2 separate regions of the Homo sapiens genome follow, and region 2 is linked to region 1. The links are contacts of gene promoters, found by promoter capture Hi-C in blood cells and fetal thymus (Javierre and others, 2016). All regions are on one chromosome and are shown on one strand. Each heading gives the region's core, a stretch centred on a gene start or on the middle of the fragment in contact. The rest is flanking DNA. Distances are from core to core; before and after follow the strand shown. Region 1 holds the start of BRWD1-AS1 (BRWD1 antisense RNA 1). Region 2 holds the start of PIGP (phosphatidylinositol glycan anchor biosynthesis class P).

Evidence for each region. The method cuts DNA at HindIII sites, captures the fragments that hold promoters and counts their contacts. A CHiCAGO score of 5 or more calls a contact.
Region 2: a contact is called between the fragment with the promoter of PIGP here and the fragment with the promoter of BRWD1-AS1 in region 1, in 2 of 17 cell types (monocytes and erythroblasts). The highest score is 14.6, in monocytes.

Annotation. Positions count from the first base shown.
Region 1 is chr21:39,314,269-39,320,880 of GRCh38, reverse strand. It overlaps BRWD1-AS1 (BRWD1 antisense RNA 1), which reads right to left and starts at 5,174. Exons shown (of 3, transcript NR_046655.1): 1 at 5,066-5,174; 2 at 3,672-3,836. It overlaps BRWD1-AS2 (BRWD1 antisense RNA 2), which reads right to left. Exons shown (of 1, transcript NR_111942.1): 1 at 5,966-6,612. It also overlaps a transcript of BRWD1 not described here. RefSeq lists enhancers at 5,066-5,760, 5,761-6,456. The HindIII fragment of the contact is 2,798 bases long and covers 2,776-5,573 here.
Region 2 is chr21:37,069,365-37,075,418 of GRCh38, reverse strand. PIGP (phosphatidylinositol glycan anchor biosynthesis class P) reads left to right here and starts at 2,348. Exons shown (of 5, transcript NM_153682.3): 1 at 2,348-2,419; 2 at 2,882-2,985; 3 at 5,795-5,867. The coding sequence starts at 2,904. TTC3 (tetratricopeptide repeat domain 3) reads right to left here and starts at 2,165. Exons shown (of 46, transcript NM_001330683.2): 1 at 1,946-2,165. RefSeq lists silencers at 1,758-1,817, 2,038-2,357, 2,598-2,877 and an enhancer at 2,156-2,450. The HindIII fragment of the contact is 9,103 bases long and covers 1-5,172 here.

The DNA of each region.
Region 1 (6,612 bases), core at 3,925-6,424:
GCCTGGCCAACATGGTAAAACCCTGTCTTTACTAAAAATACAAAAATTAGCTGGATGTGGTGGTGTGCACCTGTAGTCCCAGCTACTGGGGAGGCTGAGGCAGAATTGCTTGAACCTGGGAGGCGGAGGGTGTAGTGAGCCGAGATCATGCCATTGCACTCCAGCCTGGGCAAGAGAGCAAGATTCTGTCTCAAAAAAAAAAAAAAAAAAAAAGATATGACTCTAAGGTTTTTGAAAAGAGATTAACGGCTTGGGTATGGTAGTCACACCTATAATCCTAGCACTTTGGGAAGCTGAGCCAGAGGATTGCTTGAGCCCAGGAGTTCGAGACCAACCTGGACAACATGGTGAATCCCCGTCTGTAGAAAAAATGCAAAAACTAGCCAGTTGTGGTGGTGGGTGCCTGTAGTCCCAGTTACCTGGGAGGCAGAGGTGGGAGGATCAATTGTGCCTGAAAGATCGAGGCTGCAGTGAGACGTGATTGCACTACTGCACTCCACCCTGGATGACAGACTGAGACACTGTTTCAACAAGAAAAAAAAGGGAAGCCCAACTCCTTAAGGGGCAGGGGAGGCAGTGGTCTTAAAGCCCAGAGAGGGTCTCTATGTGCAAAGAGAGGGTCTCTATATGCACACAAATAGCAGTTACTATCAACCTGTGGCTTGGCAGGAAAGGAGCTGGGAAAATGGAAACTCCAACCTCACTCTCCTCCCACCCTTCCATCTCTGGCTGAGGCCTCTTACCAGATGAATCCCATTGGAAACTCAAGGGCAAGCGAGCCATGGCTTTACTGCACAGTCATCTTTCCTGGGTGTGGAGCAGGGAGGGAGGAGAGTAGAATGTCCTCCACAGTGTTAAAAGCAAGCCAAGGAGTTTGGGTTTGAGGTGACAGCGAATGAGAAAGACGTGAACAGGGAAGCAATATGTTAAGTTGCACTTAAGGTTTTTAAAAGTAGTGACAGGATTATCTCCAAAGAAGATACAGAAGTGGCAAAGAAAATAAAAATAAATAAATGAAAAGAAAAAAATAAAATGACAGGATTAATTAGGTGGAGAGTCAGGGAGAACTTTAAGGAGGATGCTTGTTGATGATTGAGGGCCTGAACTAAGTGGGAATGGAGAGAAAAAGAATTATTCTTATATAACAGGGTCATGTTGAGAGCTGGGCATTGTTCAGCGAGCTTCACAGGCATGCTCTCTGGAAATGCTCACAAACACCTCTAGCTGTCTCATGATCCTTAAATAATGCATGGAAATGATTTAGGACAGTGTCCAGCATACAAACATATCCAATAAATGTTATTAGTTGTCATGCTTATTTTAAAGATTATTAAACAAAACGAACAGAAAAATATCCGAGCCAAGAGGTTGCCCAACTCCGACATCCAAACACAGACACATTCTGATCCCAGCTCCCATGTTCCCAAGGTCTTGTCCAACCACACTGTGTTTTCTCTAGTGCTGTGAGAAATGTTTCAAAGTAAGAACGAGTAAGACTTGGAGACAGACATGGGCCAGCGCCTGCAAGCTGGGAACAAATAGGACAGAAGCCAATGGCAAGGGAGAGGCAGAAGTTGGAGAGGGAAGAGATAAATGTGGAAACAATTTGCTGAGGAAGGCAGGGACAAGTAGCATTAAGGGGACAGCTGGTTGGGTTAGACTTAAAAGGAAGAAAAGGTCCTGTGGGAAAGATGACACCACTAGTAGGTGGAGGAAGGGCATCAGGAATTAAATGCAATATAATATCTACTAGTGACTAAGGGCTTATCAAAAGATCAGATACCTTCTTCATTTTTACTTTGAAAGTCCTCCAAAAATCGATCAAAGTCCAGGTGTGGTGGCTCACGCCTGTAATCCCAGCACTTTGGAAGGCCAAGACAGGAGGGTCACTTAAGGCCAGGCAATGCAGTGAGACCCTGTCTCTAAAAAATAAATAAATAAATAAAATCTATCGAAGTGTTAACTCTCCTCTTCCTAGGGAATTTATCCAACAGAAGTCCAGGAAGATCAAGGCGGGAGGATCACTTGAGGCCAGGAGTTTGAGACCAGCCTGGGCAACAGAGCAAGACCCGCATCTCTAAAAAACAGTAAAAAATTAGCCAGGCATGGTGGTGCACACCTGTAGTCTCAAGTACTCAGCGGTAGGACTGCGAGGCTGCAGTGAGCTCTGACTGTACCACTGCACTCCTGCCTGTGTGACAGAATGACATACTGTCTCTAAAGCGGAAAAAAACAAAACAAAAAACAGCCCAGGAGCCAGGGAAGACTTTTAACACATATTTTGTTGAATGAATGAATGAAGTGATCCAGGTTTTTGTGTGCATTTAATTTCACCTCTAGGTGCTGATCCAGTTTGTGGTATAGTGTTCTGGAGGTCCAACGTCATCTACTTCCTGCCCTTCAGAGGTATGCTGATGTTGTGTGTACATCAACATCAGCACAGCCTCCTGAATGAACCTAAATTCAGTTAACACAAATTTGCATTAAAACTAATATTAGGCTTTGGATTAGGTATCTGAGTTGTTTTGCATGTTCTCCATTGCTCACAGATTTCCTTATCTCATTTTTCAGAGTCTTTTGAAATGGACTCTAATCTACTAATTCATTCCATTTTGACCACTCTCTTATGTGAATTGTTGGAACCAGACTTCTTTGGTCACCATTTTCTAGATATGCATTCATATTTAACGTTGTTGGGCTTCCTAAGTGGTGATTTGGAAGGCCTTACTGAATTTTATTTTCCTCTCATTCACAGACAGATTAAAAAAAAAAGCTTTCCATTTTTAGGCAAATTCTTAAACTTTATTAGCCTTAGTTCCTCATTCTTTTTTGAGACAGGGTCTCGCTCTGTTGCCCAGGCTGGAGCACAGTGGTACCACCATAGCTTGTGACAGCCTTAAACTCCTGGGCTCAAGTGATCTCCTGCCTCAGTCTCCCCAAATAGCTCAAACTACAGTCACCCAACACCATGCATGGACTAAGTTTTTAATTTTTTGTAGAGAGAGGGTCTCACTATGTTTAAGACCAGCCTTGAACTCCTGGGCTCATGCGGTCCTCCTGCCTTGGTCTTCCAAAGTGCTGATAGCACAGACGAGAGCCACTACGCCCAGACTAGTTTCCTCATTCTTAAAATGGGAATAACAGAATCTAAGAGTTGCCTGCGGTAAATGAGATTACACACGTACTTATCACGTGGGCTTCCAAATGTCAGCTCTCTGATGCGCTAGCTGTGCAATCCTGTGTAAGTCTCCTAATTTTCAGGTCCCATTTCCTCTTTTGTGAAACGTGGCCAAGGGAGAATGGACTTTGCAGTGTTTGTGTTTCAGTCTAAGATAATACTGTCTACTTGGGATTGCAGTCCAGCCACCACTTACCAGCTATATGCCCTTGGGCCATACTTCCTCTGCGCCTCAGCTTGAGCCTATCAATGACATCTAAGAGCTGTTTATCCAGTCAGGAGTTGCTTGCCACGGCATAAGATGTTGGTTCCCTTGAAAATGCAACCCTATAGCTTAATGTCACCCACTGTTAAGATTTTCCAACACTTGCTTACCATGTAGCTTTCTTGTGGTGAAACTCTAAAGTTATTTCCATTTACCCAAAAGCAAACCTCAGTGTGTACATATGGAATGGCTGGGATTGAATTGTGTGAGGAATACACAGATTCTTGCCTTGTTTGGAGACCACTTCTGGTGGGTACCCACTAAGGAGTTGCTCCTGGACAGTGTATTTCTTTTTCCTCCTCCTGGCAGGCAAATATGAGTCACATCTGAGTCTCTTGACATATGGGAGTCGAATCGGGAAGATATTCTCTCTCTTGTTAGAAATCTTTGTTCCTATTCAAAATTTAGAAAGAATATTTGTCATGAATGTGATAGTAAGTTGTAAAAGGACTCCCAAGGCTCTTGTAAAGGAAAACTCATGTCATCGTGTCTTTTTTTTGAGACAGGGTCTTGCTCTGCTGCCTAGGCTGGAGAGCAGTGCTGTGATCATGGGTCACTGCAGCGTCAATCCCCCCCGGCTCTAGCCATTCTCATGCCTCAGCCTCTTAAGTAGCTGGGGCTACAGGTACACACCTACCACCCCTGGCTATTTTTTATTTCTTGTAGAGATGGGGTCTTACTATGTTACTCAGGCTGGTCTCGAACTCCTGGGCTCAAGCAGTCCTCTGGCCTTGGCCTCCCAAAGCGCTGGGATTACAGGTGTGAGCCACTGTGTCTGGGCTCGTGTCATCATTTCTGATCTCTTGTAATGGTTATCATGGTGCCAGTATCAGAACGATAATTTTGGACAATGACCAGAGCTTGGGATATAAATTCTTGTAATATCTTTAGGGGGTTTTTAATCTTACGCCCTTGTTACAAAATGAAATGCACAACTCCTTGGTCAATCATTGAAAGTTTAAATTCTCCCCTCTTGATGTCTTTGTCATTTGGTAACACTGGTAATCTTGCAGCATCAGATCACTGTCCCACAGTCATCTATGCACTGTAACTTCAAATAATCAAGTTGTTGCAAGCAGTTACTCATCTTAACAATCTAGCTACCAGCCTGTATGCCCTACCTTATTTGTTGGCACAACCTTGGAAAGCCCCAAACGAGATTTTTGTGGTTTTTATTTCACCCCAACTTCATCTTGCAGATTTACTGTCCTACATACTTCTGATCTTGTCTCTTCTCTATCCTTATGACCAACGCCCTCATGCATCATTTCTTTTCTATTTCAGGGGTATGTTAAGTGCCTCTTGGTCTTAACTTTCTCAAATCCATCCTAAAATAGAAAATGATTCCTTCCTGGCTTAGAATCTTTCAATTGCTCCCAATTTCAACTTCTGACATCATGGTCCCATCCTCTCCAAAGTCACCCCAAGTAGTCATACTAAACTTCTGGTTCCTTAAACTAGAAATCATATTCATGTCTTGGCCCTCTGTTGTTTGTATGTGCGAAATCCCTTTCCACACATTGTAGCCTGGATAACCCAAACTTCCCTAACATTTCCCCCACGCACAGGCAAGCTGATCTTCTGATATATCTCTGCCCTAAATCGTGTCATTATTTGCTTACATCTGTTTCCCCTAAGAGACGCTGAAGTCTTTGATGGCAAAGCTGTGGCTCATTCCTTTTTTTTTTTTAATCTCCATCACTTGTTAGTGCTTGCTGAATTAACAGATGTAAGGAGTTAACTTACTGTTGCACTAGCTCAAACATATTTAGATTGTTACCTCACAAATAGCTTTTTTTTTTTGGAGACGGAGTCTCGCCTTGTCGCCCAGGCTGGAGTGCAGTGGCGCGATCTCGGTTCACTGCAGCCTCCGCCTCCGGGGTTCAAGCGATTCTCCTGCCTCAGCCTCTCAAGTAGCTGGGACTAGAGGCGCGCACTGCCACACCTGGCTAATTTTTTTATTTTTAGTAGAGACGGGGGTTTCACTATGTTGGCCAGGATGGTCTTGATTTCCTGACCTCGTGATCCGCCTGCCTCGGCCTCCCAAAGTGCTTGGGACTACAGGCGTGAGCCACCATACCCGACAGCCTCACAGATATCTATGTCCATTTATAAATATATATAAAAGCTTTTGGCCAGGCGCAGTGGCTCATGCATGTAATCCCCAGCACTTCGGGAGGCCAAGGCGGGTGGATCACCTGAGGCCAGGAGTTCGAGACCAGCCTGGCCAACATGGTGAAACCCGTCCCTACTAAAAATATAAAAATATAAAAATTAGCCGGACGTGGTGGCGCTTGCCTGCAATTCCAGCTACTCGGGAGGCTGAGGCACAAGAATCGCTGGAACCCGGGAGGCAGAGGTTGCAGTGAGGTGAGATCGCGCCACTGCACTCCAGCCTGAGAGCAAGACCCTGTCTCAAAATAAATAAAAGCTTTTGCTATTTGGTGTAAATAAAAGCCAACTTGTACACGGTGCTTACTGTATACCAGGAACACAAATTCATTAAATCCTCACAACTTTGAGACAGGCACAAATATTATCTGTTTACTAGTGAGGAATTACCTACGGTTTACTAGTAAGGAACACTGAGACCCACAGGTTGTGACTTGCTCAAGGTCAAGCTGGTGGAGCCAAGACAAGGTGCAGGCAGTGAGTCCTGCCCTAGAGTCTGACCCGAACCACATTTAACGTCTATGTGGTGTGTAGGTTATTGCCATGAGTAAGAATCAGAATTGTTAACGCGCATTCCAGGAAGGCAGGGACACCACTGAGTGTTACTGCTGTACTTTAGGGGCCAGAGCAGGGCAGGCTGGATGCGCGGAGGAAACTCATAGTTAGGTCAGAAGCCTGGCAAGACAAGGGAATTTTCTGGTCGTCGTCCACCTCTCCAACCTCACATCCTACTAGTCTTCCAAGAGGATTCTAACTGCACATGACTCCCTAGTTTCCGGCTTCTCTTCCTAAGGAGGGTCTGCGGCCCGTCTGCACCACCCTCTCCCCACAGTCCCGTTTTCCTGTCCATGCTTGGATGGATCCAGCCGAGCCGTCAGCCGCAGCTGCGCGCTGCTCCCCCGACTCGCACCCCCTCGGCGAAGCGCTGCATTTTATGTAATTTTCTGCCGGGCTGCTGGCTTGTGGGGGATGTGGCTGGGTCTCGGCAGCCTTCAGC
Region 2 (6,054 bases), core at 1,099-3,598, 2.2 Mb after region 1:
CTTCCTACAGAAACTTCCAAATGTGTGCACAAGCAGACAAGTACAAAGATATTTATTGCAGGACTGTTTTTAAGAGTCAAAAACTGAAACAAGTTCAAAGTCTATCAACAGGGGAATGTATAAATAAATATGGTATATTCATACAACGCAATTCTATACCAGCAATTAAAATGAATGAACCAAAGATAACACAATCATTCAATTTGTTCATATATAAACCTCAAAATATGATGCTGAGCAAAAAAAAAAAAAGCAAGTTGCAAAAAGGCATGTATATTTTAATGCCATTAAAGTTTAAAAACAAACAATAATATATATTGTGTATGGATTCACCTTGATCAAAGTATAAAATATGCAAAGTAAAGATATACACAAACCTCAACGCAGTGGCTATCTCTAGAAAAGGAGGGGAAGGAACTGAGAGCAATTTTATTTCTTTAAAAAAAAAGAGTATCTGAAGTAAATTTGGCAAAAGATTAAATAATCACGTCTGTAAAATCTGAATCATGGATTGGTTAGCTCCCCCTCTGTATTTGATATCTGAAATATTCCAAAAATTAAAAGAAAAAAAGGAAAATTAGACAATAAGAAAATTGGGCAGAACAAAGACACCAAAACGCAGCCCTTGAGCGCAGAGCACGAAACCTTGAGCAATCGGAGCAGTAGCTGGGTCTCTAAGGGGTTTGAAGTTTCTTACCCTAGGTATCCTTATACTATATCCCATTTTCCTTAGGATAAATCGCAAATTTCTTGCAACAAAAAATGTCCTAACTAGAGTCGTAGTTATAAGGAAAAGGCTCTCTCCGGAGGAGTAAAATCTGTAAAATTTCTACCTTGTTTCCCTCGCCAGGATCTTGGGCAAAATGGAAAGAGATTTAGGTGAATGCCATAAAATACTCTATAAACCATTAAATATCATCAAGAACGCCTAAGGACCGCATCGCCCAGTAGGAGAGTGCATATATTTTGAAAGGTCTCTGCAACTGAGGGGGTTTTGGCGTCCAGGGCGCCACTGGAAAAGGCACGGCGCACTGGTACCAGCCCAAATTCACCTACGTCTCGGCTTCATTTTTTATCTTTGATCCCCCTATTCTGTCTCCTGAACAGGCTGGCTGAAGAGGCCACACTGGCAGCGTCAACACTGCGGAGCAGCTGGCCAGACTCGATCCTGTCCACCCCCCTTCCCATTAGCGTCTGTGGGAGAGAATGCTCAGAAAGAGGCGCGGGGGCGAGGGGAGCGGCGAGGTTACCCCCCTCCTGGGTCCGTTCCGTGGGGACAGGCCCTGGACTGGACTGCCAGTTCACACGAAAACAGGTGGCAACAGAGTCGTGACACGCACACACAGCAAGGGGTGTGCACGAACGTTCACGCTCACCAACGAAACCTGCACACAAGAGATACCCACTCGACAGAATTAAATCCGCACACAAGAGATCACGCACTCAACAGGACCCATGCGCAGACACTCTGCGTCACTCGGAGACACGCAAGGACGCACACTTGCGCGAGCAAGGCTCTAGGCGGGGGTCGCAATTGCAGAAGGCGCGGCCACGCGCGCTAGGGGACGCGCAGCCCACAGACAGGGGCAGTAACACAAAGGGGGGCCACCTGCAAGGCCGAGAGCGCCCACGCAGCCGCCAGGGAGCGCGGACACCGACACAAAAGGGGCGACGAGGCGACACGCGAGCGCCTCCACCCAGCGGAGGTGTCAGCCACGCACCGGCCGAGGCACGGGCAGCGGGGGGTTGCGCACAAAGGGACTACTCACACCCTCGCACCGGCATCCCAGGGCCTCGCTCGCGAAGGGGCACCAGACCAAGGGGGCAAACCCACTGGGGTAGGCAATGGCGGCCACACCCCCTCATCGCGCGGGACCCAACCCATGCAGACACAGTAGGCACCTCAGCGAGGGACGCGAGGAGACGCGCACACACCCACACTCACCACACACCCACGGAGGGGGTGTGGAAGGCCCCGCTCCCCCGGCATCTCGGCTGCAGCGGGACAAGGTGACACATCCGGGAGCCCGGCAGCGCGCCGGGTGTGCACTCACCCGGGCCCGCCGCCCGCGAGCCTCGGACGCGGGCAGCAGCAGCAGCAGCCGCCGCCGCCGCCGCCGCCACCTCCGGCCCTCCACGTCAGCCGACGGCGGGAGGGAGCGGGTGGCGGCGTTGAAGCGAGGTGCGTCACGTGGGCTGGCAGCGCGCGTGCGCAGTCGCACCCCACCGCCCCCTCCTTCGCCGTCGCGAGCCGCGGGATCACGCCCGCCCCCGCGCTCGCTGGCTCCCACCCGGGGAGGGTCGTTGTGCGCCTGCGCCAGGGTGGGGGTTGCCGTCGCGCCTAGGCCTTTCCCTCAGGTTTTCCTCTTCCCCACTGCGGCTCCCCAGTCGGCGCTTGCGCGGAGAACTCAGCGCTGAGGTGGCCGAGGTGTCGGGAGGGGCCTGGGTGGGCGTATGAAGGACCCGAGGTCGAGGGCCCCCCCATACCCCGCCTCGAATGAGAAATAGAAGTCTCCACGAATGGGCAGGGCCCGGGGCCTGGGCGCCGCGACCTAGTAGGCCCGCATGCTGGTGGGCGCCGCGCGAGCCTTGTTCCCTGCCCTCCCCTCCCACAGGGAGGCCACGCTTGCAGAGCTGGAGCGCGCGTCTATCGCCCCAGAACCCCCCTCCCTGCCCTATCCTCCGCCACCCCTTCTGTTGCGGGGCGCGCGCCAGCCTGGGTGTCTGTATGCGCTCGAGGCGGGGGCGCGGGTTGCGGACGGAGGCGCGGGAGGCGGTTCTGCGCGGCGGGGGCCGTACCCGCGGCGGAGCGAGGAGGCGAGAATGGATCAATGGTGCCACGGAGCACATCGCTGACGCTGATTGTGTTCCTTTTCCACAGATTGTCTAAAGCCCCAGGAAAAATGGTGGAAAATTCACCGTCGCCATTGCCAGAAAGAGCGATTTATGGCTTTGTTCTTTTCTTAAGCTCCCAATTTGGCTTCAGTAAGTACTTTCCTGATGGATGGCCAGGGGCTTTTTCTGGCGTTCAGTGACAAGGGAAGAATACATTGGTTAGACTGTGCACACATGAACTGTTGATTCTTTCTCCCTATGTCTCTTTTTAAGAAAATCTGAAGGGATCTCGTGTTTGCTGAGTGTTCCGTGTGCCAGCACTAGCCTAGGAGGTTTTAGTCTCTACAAATATTTATACAGCACCAGACGCGATGGCAAAGTGGATAAAGCCTGGTCCCTGCCCTTAAGGAGGTCGTGGTCTTGTGGAGGAGACAGATGGGTAAATCTACAGTTAATGCTCAGTGTGATGAGTGTCAGGGAGCACGGTGGAGAGACATTGAAACCAGACTGGAAAGTCAAGGCTTTCTACAGAGGCCTTTCCCCCTGGCACTGATGCTGATTAGGAAAGAGTAAGAGGGAGGGAAGAAGTGGAAAGGCCTTGAATGAGGGCGTGAGAGGGTTTGGACCCGAGGAGCTTGTGATGTCACCAGTGTGCCCTGCGGGATCTGGGGAACAGGAGAAGTAGGCCAGAGAAGTCGGGTTGAAAGGTGTGTCGTTTGCGTCCTGGATCTCCCTTAATTTAACCCCATAACATTCCATTTTACAGATAAGGAGACTGATGCTCACTAAGACACTAATATGCCCACTCACACAGCAAGTCCCAAGTCTCTCCCCAAAATGATTTGAGAATTTTGAGGCACACAAAAGGGAGAAAATTGAGTGCCCGTGATCCAACGTTCTGCAACTGTTTGGAAACCAGGAAAGTGGAGGAGTGGTAGTACTTCTGAACCCTAACTAAAATATATCAGCCTGCACCATCAGCACAGCTTGCAGATGAATGTAATGGCCAGGCTATTAAAACTGAAGTGAAGTGAAGAAGTTACAACTGAGTTCGAATTCTGACTCCTCCACAGATTAGCCATGTGAGCTGGGACCCTCAGCAAATTTTTTGAGCCTCAGGTTCCTTATCTGTAAAAGGGTAGTGATAATGATGGTTATTAAATGCTTATGACGCATGAAACAGTTCTATGGGGTAGGTTCTGTTATTACTGTCCTTTAAAGATGAGCATCCTGTGGTTTCAGTAACTTGCTCAAGATTGCAAAGCTACTAAATAAAAGCCTTCTAAATTTGAACCCAAATACACTGGCTGACTTCACTCTGCTGCCTCTTCTGACTGTTGTGAGGATTAACGGGGGTAATTTATGTAAAGCACGTAAAATAATGCCTAGGAACAGTTAGGGACTTAATAAGTGTTAGCTACTGATGTTATTGTTAGCACTTTTGTAAATCCTTGTTCAAAGAGTATGTCAAGGATTAGAAGCTATATGAATAAATAAAAGCAATCACTTTAAGGCTTAAATTCTGGCCGGCCTGGTGGCTCACGCCTGTAATCCCGGCACTTTGGGTGGCCGAGGCAGGCAGATCATCTGAGGTCGGGAGTTTGAGACCAGCCAGACCAACATGGAAAAACCCTGTCTCTACTAAAAATACAAAATTAGCCGGGATGGTGGCGCATGCCTGTAACTCCAGCTACTCGGGAGGCTGAGGCAGGAGAATCGCTTGAACCCGGGAGGCGGAGGTTGCCGTGAGCTGAGATTGCACTTTTGCACTCCAGCCTGGGCAACGAGCGAAACTGTCTCAAAACAAAATTAAATTCCATCATACCCACAACCAAAAAGTAATTCAAGTATTTATTGGTGCTTACCATGTGCCAGGCACTGTTACAGGCCAGGAAGGACCAAAACAGCCAAAAATGCCCTGCTTTGAGTCTTCATTCTCATGCCGGGGGGAGATAGTCAATGGGCAAGTTAAATAAGAAAAACGTATATAGTATCAGGTGATAACGTACTATGGGGAGAAATTAAGCAAAGGGAAGGAGGATACGAAGTGGAAGGAGGGCCTTCTAATGTGCTTCTATGTCATCTTTTATTACTCATTCGTGAGCACTTGTAACAATGTAGTGAAAATACCAATTTTCTCTATTCACCACTAGATTTTAAGTTTAGGGAGGGCAGAAGCCATCTCTTTTGGATTCAATATTGTGTCTCACACACCTGACATACAGAATTCTGTAATACATATTTGTTAAGAAAAGAATGCATCATCACTGATGTAGTAGGTAGTTAAAATTTATCTTTGCCGCTTACCTTGGGTAGGTGATGTATCCTTTCTAAGCTTCCATTTCCTCATCATTTAAAATTGCATACTTGCCTTGGAGGATTGTCTTGGAGGATTATCTTAATGCATACAGAATGCTTGGAACTGTGCTTAACCCACAGTGAGTGCTCAGAACTTAGCCATTGTTGTTATCGTGGGATAACAGTAAAGAGTGCCGAGATTTCGGATTGAGGGAAATAACATTGTACTCTGGGAGATAGGGCAGAAGCTCAGTATGTGGTGGATGAGAACTAGGGTAGGTAAATTTCCCTTTGAGCAATTAAATGTCTATAATTACTTCAACCTTGTGGGGATGAAGTATTGAACACTTACTGTACCTAAAGCAAACTGCTAGGTAATAAGGATTACAACAATTGCTAAGCCATGATTTGTATCCTTGAATTGCTTAAAATATAATGTGAGTTAAGATATTAAAAAAAAAGACTAATACAGTAATTATAAGTATTATAAGAATTGTGCAAACGAGCTAGAAGAACTGAAAGGAGGAAAAAATCATTTCTGAGTTAATCAGGGACACTTCAAAAGAGCTTTTCTGTTTTATCTGAATCTTAATAGATTGATAGATTAGATGTATGTCTTACTGACTTCTCTTCCTCTTTTTTTTCTTTTTCTTTTCTACAGTACTTTACCTCGTGTGGGCCTTTATTCCTGAATCTTGGCTAAACTCTTTAGGTTTAACCTATTGGCCTCAAAAGTAAGTTTAATATATTTCTTAAATGAGGATATAATTAATGCTGTTTTGAGGAGTCATATCATTTCTTAAACCTACCCAAATCTTAAATATTTGTTCTCTTAAAATTCATGAATAGCCATATAGAAATTGAAAGCTTTTTAAAGATCGCTATTGATACATCTCTAATTAAAGATGGTAGCATGAACAC